3 separate regions of the Homo sapiens genome follow, and all the other regions are linked to region 2. The links are contacts of gene promoters, found by promoter capture Hi-C in human tissues and cell types (Jung and others, 2019). All regions are on one chromosome and are shown on one strand. The core of a region is centred on a gene start or on the middle of the fragment in contact, and the rest is flanking DNA. Distances in the headings are between cores, read along the strand shown. Region 1 holds the start of FUT6 (fucosyltransferase 6). Region 2 holds the start of DENND1C (DENN domain containing 1C). Region 3 overlaps LOC124904625 (a long non-coding RNA gene).

Region 1 (3,006 bases), core at 1-2,500, 640 kb before region 2:
CGGTGCATCCAGAAAGACCCCTGCCTGCGACTAGGGGCTGCTGGCCAAATGCCAGGCCACTGCACAGCCTGCAGACCCTCCCCCAGGGATCTTGTGCCAGCCCACCCGCACTCTGAATTACAGCAGACAGGACTGAGGCTGAGGGGAGGAGGCTCGGAGCCAGGAGGCCTTTCCCTGGACCCATGCGATCCGGGTTGGGGGTGAAAGTGGGACAAGAGGCCTTACCTGGGGGGGCCAGTGTGCAGAGGGCCCTAGAGCTGAGAGGCCGCGGACGGAGTAACAGCTGGATTCTGAGGACGTGGAAGAGGCCACACCACGCAGCAGAAGGAAGGAGGAAGTGTACCCGGAGCTGAAACCAGGCCCTTTCCAACCACCACACCTGTCATCAGGTGACCCAGGGCATCCTGTCCTGGAGCCCGGACATCCTTTGAAAACAAATCGTGGGGCTCCCCTAATCCCCGTTGCAGAACCAAACAGGGTGAAGGGATTTGGAGACTCAGGTCATGCATGACCTTGCCCCACCTGTGGCTTCAATGCGATGTGGCTTTGAGTACAAAGTGAAAAGGCTGACCTGAACCACCGGTTCCCAAAGCGGGTTCCACAGGGACACCAGGGGTTCCTTGGGAGGTGGGAATGAGGAAGTGAGCAGAATTTCTACCTTTCCGCTTTCCTTCCCACCAGATCCCACCTTCTCACTCAGTTGGCCCATCACCAAATATTTCCTGAGCACTAAGTGCCAGGCCAAGGGATCTTGCAGGAAACCGGTGGGCAAGTCAGGCAACTCATGAACCTTGGAAGGGAACTTTCTTCAATTAAAATTGCAGCCTTTTGAATAAAAAAGGGATGGAAGGGCATTCCAGTTACAAGGAACAACCTTCGCAAAGGCCCTGAGGCAGCAGAAATGCAGGCATGTTGAGGAACTGCAGGAGGAGTCTCAGCAGGCTGGGTCTTCACCACTGGAGAGGAGGCAGAGCTGTTGCAGAGGCTGGGCCACGGTCAGCCATAGGGTGTTCAGCACCAAGGCAATAGGGAGCCATGTGAGGCTTCAAGCAGAGGGGTTACCATGTCGATACATGTTTTCAGATGCTCTCTTCTGGTAGGCTGGGCACAGGTCCCATATTGGTGGCAGAAGCTTCCTCCGGTGGCCTCAACAAGCCCCTCTGTGTGCCTCAAAGCCACTTCCTTTCCCCACCCACTCCTGCAGGGCAGTGCAAAGCAGAAGTCCAGGGAGCTATGCAAACTTCCTGGAATGGAGAGAAATGATCTGGAATACTGGTTTTGAGGGAGGATGACCTTAAACTCTCTCACTCCCAAGCTGGGTGCAAAGGTGACCGAGCTCAAAGCCCAGCCTCCAAGTATCACGACTGCCCTGTTCTAGAAATCATTTCTGGGAGGCTGCATCATGCTGCCTGAGTTCTACTATCTCAGTGCCCAGCCACGCCCAGACCAGTGAGGTTCTGGGAGGTAGGGATGGGCCAGGGGGTTGGGGTCTCCCAGAGCTCCAGAAGTGGCAACCTAATTCCACTCATGTCTCATTCCTTGACTGGTGAGGTTGACTGTAACTTATTAAAAAAATGACTTCTGGGGGCCGGGCGTGGTGGCTCACGCCTGTAATCCCAACACTTTGGGAGGCCGAGGTGGGCAGATCACGAGATCAGAAGATCAAGACCATCCATCCTGACTAACATGGTGAAACCCTGTCTCTACTAAAAATACAAAAAAATTAGCCAGGCGTGGTAGTGGGTGCCTGTAGTCCCAGCTACTTGGGAGGCTGAGGCAGGAGAATGGTGTGAACCCGGGAGGCGGAGCTTGCAGTGAGCCTAGATTGAGCCACTGCACTCCAGCCTGGGCGACAGTGCAAGACTCTGTCTCAAAAAAAAAAAAAAAAAAAAAAAAGACTTCTGAGGCCATGCACAGTGACTCACACCTGTAATCCCAACAGTTTGGGAAGGAGAGGCAGGAAGATCGCTTGAGCCCAGGAGTCTGAGACCAGCCTAGGGAAAACAGAGATACCCCTATCTCTCTCTTTTTTTTGAGATGGAATCTTGCTCTGTCACTCGGGCTGGAGTGCAGTGGCACAGTCTCAGTTTACTGTAACCTATGCCTCCCGGGCTCAAGCGATTCTCATGCCCCAGCCTCCCGAGTAGCTGGGACTACAGGCGCGTGACACGGCACTGGGTAACTTTCGTATTTTTTTAATAGAGCTGGTTTTCGCCATGTTAGCCAGGCTGATCTTGACCTCCTGACTTCAGGTGATCTGTCTGCCTCAGCCTCCTAAAGTACTGGGATTAGAGGCCAGGCATGAGCCACTCCGCCCAGCTGGGTTTTTTTTCTTTTTTTTTTTTGAGACAGAGTCTCGCTCTGTGGCCCAGGCTGGAGTGCAGTGGCACGATCTCGGCTCATGGCAAGCTCTGCCTCCTGGGTTCACGCCATTCTCCTGCCCCAAGTAGCTGGGACTACAGGCGTCCGCCATCACGCCCAGCTAATTTTTTTTTTTTTTTTTGTATTTTTAGTAGAGACATGTTAGCCAGGATGGTCTCGATCTCCTGACCTTGTGATCCGCCCGCCTCGGCCTCCCAAAGTGCTGGGATTACAGGCGTGAGCCACCACGCCCCGCCCCCAGCTGGGTTGTTTCTTAAGGATTCAAAATCCAAAGGTAGGTCTCTAGTGAGGGACAGTAGGGCTCTAGTCATTCCATCGATGTGATCGCTGGGCAAAGGGAGGGTGGAGGACCTTGGGCTGACCTCAGGGATGGTGCCAGAGAGAACGTGTGCTCATCCTGAAACTGCTGTGTGACTTGAGAGGTTTCCTGGTCCTCTCTGAGCAGGGCTCACCATACCAGTGCCAGGTGGGACCTCCCTGCCAAGGAGCTGAGCCCAGAGCCCAGAGTAGGGTATCATGAGGACCTCTTCCCTCAGGCTCAGGGCAAGCTAGGACCTGCTTGAGGCTTGCAGGGGCAGTTAGGCCATCTGTGCACCTCGTTGGGGTCTTGGCCCTCATTGGACC
Region 2 (3,323 bases), core at 98-2,597:
TAAGTGAATTACATCTCTCTCTCTCTATATATATATCCATCTATCTGTCTGTCTGTCTGTCTCTGTCTATCCATCCATCCATCCATCCACCCACCCACCCACCTATCCATCCACCCACCCACCTATCTATCTATCTATCTATCTATCTATCTATCTATCTATCTATCTATCTATCTATTTTTTTGAGATGGAGTTTTGCTTTGTCACCCAGGCTGGAGTACAGTGGCACGATCTTGGCTCACTGCAACCTCCACCCCACAGGTTCAAGCGATTCTCCTGCCTCAGCCTCCCTGTAGCTGGGATTACAGGTGCCCGCCACCACGCCCAGCTAATTTTCATATTTTTAGTAGAGACAGGGTTTCACATACTGGCCAGGCTGTTCTCAAACTCCTGACCTCAGGTGATCTGCCCGCCTCAGCCTCCCAAATTGCTGGGATTACAGGCTTGAGTCACTGCATCTAGCCATGCCATCTATATTTTCTTGTATAGATGTGAGTGTGTGTGCCCGAGCAAGTGAATGACATCTATATTTTCCTGTACAGCTGTGAGTGTCACTGGGTAACCGCGTGGGATCCTTGTGGGCTGGCTGTGTGTCTCTGTGTGTGAGACCCCATAGAACCCTCGTGGCTGGTCCCACATGTCTCATCAGAGAAAGGAGGGCAGGATACCTAGGTACTTACTGTAAGCCCTGCAATCTCTGCTTTCCTCCTCTGCCCCCATATCAAGCAGAAGAGGCAGCCTTGGGCTCAAGGAGAGAGACAGGGAGATCTAGAGGGAGATCAGCTGCACACACACTGTCCCGCCCAGTTGCACACACAGTCCCCACCATGGGTACCCCAGCACTTCACCCTCACGCCGACACAAGTCACACACGATCACCCACTCATACCAACACCCAGCCTCCCCTCTGCCCTGATCATCCGCCCTGTGGACCCCCTGAAGCCATCACTCAGACATACCAAGGACAAAGCTCAGAGGGGTACATGCATTCACAGAGCTATAGACATAATCACAGGAGCTGGATAGAGAGAGAGAGAGAGAGAGAGAGGAGGGGACCGAGAGTGGCCTGTCCCAGAGTGAAGGTCATAGCGGAGGCCCATGGAGTATCTGATTCCAGCCACCTGCCCTGGCAGGTCACTGCACCTCCCGGGCCTGCTCCAGCCCCAGCTCCCCTCTGCCCCGGCTCAGGCCTGGCCCGGGAATCTTGTACCAGAGAATGAGGGATGGGGTGGCTCTTACTCAGCTCTGGATTCCATGGTCCCTGCAGGGCCAGCCCAGCGGGGCCCTCTCCCCAGGGGTCCTGGGGGCCTGTGTATGCTGGGCCCCAAGCCGGCTCAGCTTCCTGTGTGGCTGAGAGAGGAAGTTTAACGGGTGACGTCCCCGGACAGAGGCCCTGCCCCCACCCCCGTGAGAAACCCAGGCATCCTGCCTGCTAATTATGTTGGGGATGGGTGGGCAATAAGTGGTCAGCCTGGGAAGGCAGACCCCCAGCTCCGTCCCCGCCAGGCTGGACTGTGTCTGGTTCCCCCCATCGTGCCTGGGCCCTCATCTCTCCTTCCCCGCTCCGCAGCAGCCAAGATTCACAGTCTGTCTATTAATGAAATGCCTCCCCGTCTCTTTCCCTTGGTCCATTTGGCCTGGACGGTCACTGGTGGACCACCAGAGGGAGCCACCTGTAAAGTGGACGGTGGGGGGGCCAGGGATGGGGACAAAGAGCACGAAGTACAGGCACAGGGACGGACAGACAGACACAGACACAGACAGTTACACGCTCAGGAAGTCATCAGCACAGACAAACCGAGTGCAGAAGAGCCAGAGACGACAGACATGGAGAGATAGGGAGTCCTACAGCTGGATCATAGTCCCAGGCCGGGCACAGTGGCTCACGCCTATAATCCCAGCACTTTGAGAGGCCAAGGTGGGAGGACCGCTTGAGCCCAGGAGTTCGAGACCAGCCTGGGAAACATGGCGAAACCCTGTGTCTATAAAAGCTACAAAAATTATAGCTGGCGGTGGTGGCACGCACCTATAGTCCCAGCTTACCCAGGAGGCTGAGTCAGGAGGATCGCCTGAGCCTGGGGAGTTTGAGGCCATAGTGAACCAAGATTGCACTACTGTACTCCAGCCTGAGCAACAAAGTGAGATCCTGTCTCAAAAAAAAAAAAAAACAACTTAGTCACAGTTACACACCCATTGTGCGCAGAAAGACAAGGTAAGCGGATCACTTGAGGTCAGGAGTTTGCAACCAGCCTGGCCAACATGGTGAAACCCTGTCTCTAATTAAAAAAAAATACAGGCCAGGTGCGGTGGCTCACATCTGTAATCCCAGCACTTTGGGAGGCTGAGGCAGGTGGATCACGAGGTCAGGAGTTCGAGACCAGCCTGGCCAAGATGGTGAAACCCAGTCTCTACTAAAAATACAAAGATTAGCCAGGCACGGTGGTGGGCATCTGTAATCCCAGTTACTCAGGAGGCTGAGGCAGAATTATTTGAACCTGGGAGGCGGAGTTTGCAGTGAGCCGATATCGCGCCGCTGTACTCTAGCCTGGGCGACAGAGCAGGACTCTGTCTCAAAAAATCAAAAACAAACAAACAAACAAAAAATTAGCTGGGCATGGTGGCATGTGCCTGTAATCCCAGCTGCTTGGGAGGCTGAAGCAGGAGAATCACTTGAATCCGGGAGGCAGAGGTTGCAGTGAGCCGAGATCGTGCCACTGCACTCCAGCCTGGGTGAAAGAGTGAGACTCCATCTCAAAAACAAAAACAAAAACAAAGCAAACAAACAAACAAACAAATGCAGAGACAGACAGAGACACAATAAACAGTTACACAGAGACCACAGCCATTGATACAAACAGAATAACAGAGAAATAGACCCAGATAGATGGAAACACAGCACAGACATAGCTCAAGTAATAACCAGATATAGTTATAGCCAAGACCCGGCCACATGCAGAGAGAGACACAGCTGGACTCACATGACAGCCAGATACTCATGACAGCCCGACACACTCAAGCCGTGCTGCAGACTATGAAAGACACAGGGGCTGGAGGCAGTGGCTCAGTAATCCCAGCACCTTGGGAGGCTGAGGTAGGATTGTTTGAGGCCAGGAGTTAAAGATCAGCCTGAGCAATATAACAAGACCCCATCTTTACAAAAATTAAAACTTTAGCCAGGTGCAGTAGTCCCAGCTATTCTGTAGGCTGAGGCGGGAGGATCCCTTGAGCCCAGGTGGTGGGGGTTGTAGTGAGCTGTGATCGTGCCATTGCACTCCAGCCTGGGCAACGGTGTAAGACCCTATCTCCAAACAAACACAGGAACA
Region 3 (2,990 bases), core at 4-2,503, 610 kb after region 2:
TGGGTTTTTTAAAAAATCTTTAATTTTTTCCGCTTTTTCCCTGGTTCCCCACCACCACCATCACCATTTTATATGAAGAGTCCTGGTTGTGGCCAAAGCTTAAGGTTTCTGATGGGAATACGACCAAATGACATTATCCCAACAGTAGCTTCCTTTGTATCTCTTTTTTTTTTTTTTTTTTTTTGAGATGGAGTCTCACTCTGTCACACAGGCTGGAGTGCAATGGTGCCATCTCTGCTCACTACAACCTCCGCCTCCTGGATTCAAGCGACTCTCCTGCTTCAGCCTCCCGAGTAGCTGGGACTACAGGCACACGCCAGCACACCCGGCTAATTTTTGTATTTTTAGTAGAGATGGGGTTTCACTATGTTGGCCAGGCTGGTCTTGAATTCTTGACCTTGTGATCCGCCCACCTCGGCCTCCCAAAGTGCTAGGATTACAGGCGGGAGCCACCGCGCCCGGCCCCCTTTGTATCTTATGTAGGGACATGAACTTAGCGCCAAGTGAAGGACAAGAATTGATATCCAAAATCCAATAGATTTTTCTTTTAAATACCTGAAAGTGAAACTGGCCCAATTTTCCCATATTGCTGATGTTTATGGTTTCCTTGAATAAACAAACAAATTGATCTTCCCAATCTTAAAACTTAAGAAAGTTACATTTATCTTATCTGAGTTCCTTTCTCAGGAAACCAACCATCAGGCCTCCCAGATAGTATCTAGGAGCTGAAACGCACCAGAATACTGCATTTGTACAGTGAGACATCAGACCCATCACCCATCATGATTGCCTAACTGACCACCTGCTTCCTGTTGACCAACTCCTCTTCCTTACCCTTCCCTAATTCCTGTATTCCCACACATGGTAACATTTCTTCCCTGCTATATAAACCTCAAATTTTAGTTGGTCAGGGAGATGGATTTGAGATTGTTCTCCCACCTCCTCAGCTGCAGCAGCTGATTAAAGCCTTCTTCCTTGGCAATACTCATTGTCTCAGCGATAGGCTTTCTGTGCAGTGGTGAGCAGCAGGACCTAGATTGAACCCCTGGTGTTTCAGCAACAACATAGTTCATCACCAGCAGAACTGCACTTCAAGAAACACTAAAGAAAGTTTTGGGCCAGACACGGTGGCTCACACCTGTAATCCCAGCATTTTGGGAGGCTGAGGCAGGTGGATCACCTGAGGTCAGGAGTTCGAGACAAGGCTGGCCAACATGGCAAAACCCCATCTCTGCTAAAACTACAAAAAAAAAAAAAAATTAGCTGGGCGTAGTGGCGGTCGCCTATAATCCCAGCTACTTGGGAGGCTGAGGCAGGAGAATTGCTTGAACCCAGGAGGTGGAGGTTGCAGTGAGCTGAGATCGCACCGTTGCTTTCCAGCCTGGGCGATGGAGCGAGACTCTGTCTCAAAAAAAAAAAAGAAGGAAGGAGGGAGGGAGGGAAGGAAGGAAGGAAGGAAGGAGAAGGAAAGAAAGAAGGAAAGTTTTGGGGCTGGAGGAAAATTATTCCATGTGGAAGCAATTCCAGAAATATATAAGGATAATCAGGAAAGATAAAATGTGAGCAAATACAAATAAATATTGACTGTATAAATCAAGCCTGTATAGTTTTAACACTTTTATACGTCTAAATCTTTTTTTTTTTTTCAGACGGAGTCTCACTCTGTTGCCCACACTCACCTCACTGCAACTTCCGCCTCCTGGGTTCAAGCAATTCTCTTGCCTCAGCCTCCAAGTAGCTGCAACTACAGGTGTGCACCACCACGCCCAGCTAATTTTTGTATTTTTAGTAGAGATGGGGTTTCGCCATGGTGACCAGGCTGGTCTCAAACTCCTGACCTCAAGTGATCCATCTGCCTTGGCCTCCCAAAAGTGTTAGGATTATAGGCGTGAGCCAACGTGCCCAGCCCTAATTTTTTTTTTTTTTCAAATAAAAAGAGTTTTAAATCACATTGAACTGGTCCCTTAAAACTAGAGATAATAGAAAGCATGGCAAGCCATTTCCCAGTCCCCCTAAGACTAGAGATTATGGAAGCCCCAGCAAGTGATTCTCACAATCTGCATACAGCAGTAGAGCTGACAGAAGCCCTAGCAGGTAACCACCAGTCACCCTCAAAACAAGAGGCAACAGGATGCCAGATCTCCACCCCTCAATCACTTACAAACACAAAAGATGGAGTCCAAACATGAAGACCTCCGTCATCGCGAAACTACTCCAGCAAGCACCCCTCAGTCACGTCCAAAACTATAACAGAAGTCCCTGAAATGACCCCTTCAGATGCCCCTCAACACTAAAGAATGGGGACTCCAAGCCCAATGGCCTACCCAGTCTATACCAACAGTACAGGCAAGCGGAGACCCAGAATATGACCCTCCCCAACTAGAGATAAGTGGAACCCCATCCAATAATCCCTCCATCCTCTCCCCAAACAATACACAGTAAGGCCTCTATCTGATAAATGCTCTTGACCCTTCAACACTAGAAAAAAATGGAAGCCCCAGGCACTGGCCCTCCAGTTACCTCCAACATCAGAGACAATGAAAGCTTCGCCAAGTGATTCCCCGTATCGCTCCTACATTAATGATGGAAACTCCAAAAACCAATCAACCCTCAATCCTCTACACACTCAAGAAAGGAACTCCAGGCTGGGTATGGTGGCTCACGCCTGTAATCCCAGCACTTTGGGAGGCCAAGGCGGGTGGATCACGAGATCAGGAGTTCGAGACCAGCCTGACCAATATGGTGAAACCGTCTCTACTAAAAATACAAAAATTAGCCGGGCGTGGTGACACGTGCCTGTAGTCCTAGCTACTCAGGAGACTGAGGCAGGAGAATCTCTTGAACCCGGGAGGCAGAGTTTGCAGTGAGCCAAGATCACACCACTGCGCTCAAGCCTGGGAGACAGAGCAAGATTCTGTCTCAAAAAAAAAAAAAAAAAAAAAAAGAACTCCAGCAAATGCCACCATTCTTACCCACTACCGCTGCAACAT

What was found. The method cuts DNA at HindIII sites, captures the fragments that hold promoters and counts their contacts. A contact is called where the count stands out against the background at its distance.
Region 1: the fragment with the promoter of FUT6 here is called in contact with the fragment with the promoter of DENND1C in region 2 in 1 of the 25 tissues and cell types used here (aorta).
Region 3: a contact is called between a fragment that was not itself captured here and the fragment with the promoter of DENND1C in region 2, in 1 of the 25 tissues and cell types used here (dorsolateral prefrontal cortex).

What each region holds. Positions count from the first base shown.
Region 1 is chr19:5,838,452-5,841,457 of GRCh38, forward strand. It overlaps FUT6 (fucosyltransferase 6), which reads right to left and starts at 1,251. Exons shown (of 3, transcript NM_000150.4): 1 at 226-1,251. The HindIII fragment of the contact is 16,612 bases long and covers 1-3,006 here.
Region 2 is chr19:6,480,440-6,483,762 of GRCh38, forward strand. It overlaps DENND1C (DENN domain containing 1C), which reads right to left and starts at 1,348. Exons shown (of 23, transcript NM_024898.4): 1 at 1,240-1,348. The coding sequence starts at 1,256. RefSeq lists an enhancer at 1,539-1,833. The HindIII fragment of the contact is 27,793 bases long and covers 1-3,323 here.
Region 3 is chr19:7,094,256-7,097,245 of GRCh38, forward strand. The region is part of intron 1 of LOC124904625 (a long non-coding RNA gene); the gene reads right to left. Among named protein-coding and RNA genes, the nearest start is that of ZNF557, 26 kb to the left of the region's middle. The HindIII fragment of the contact is 4,002 bases long and covers 1-2,990 here.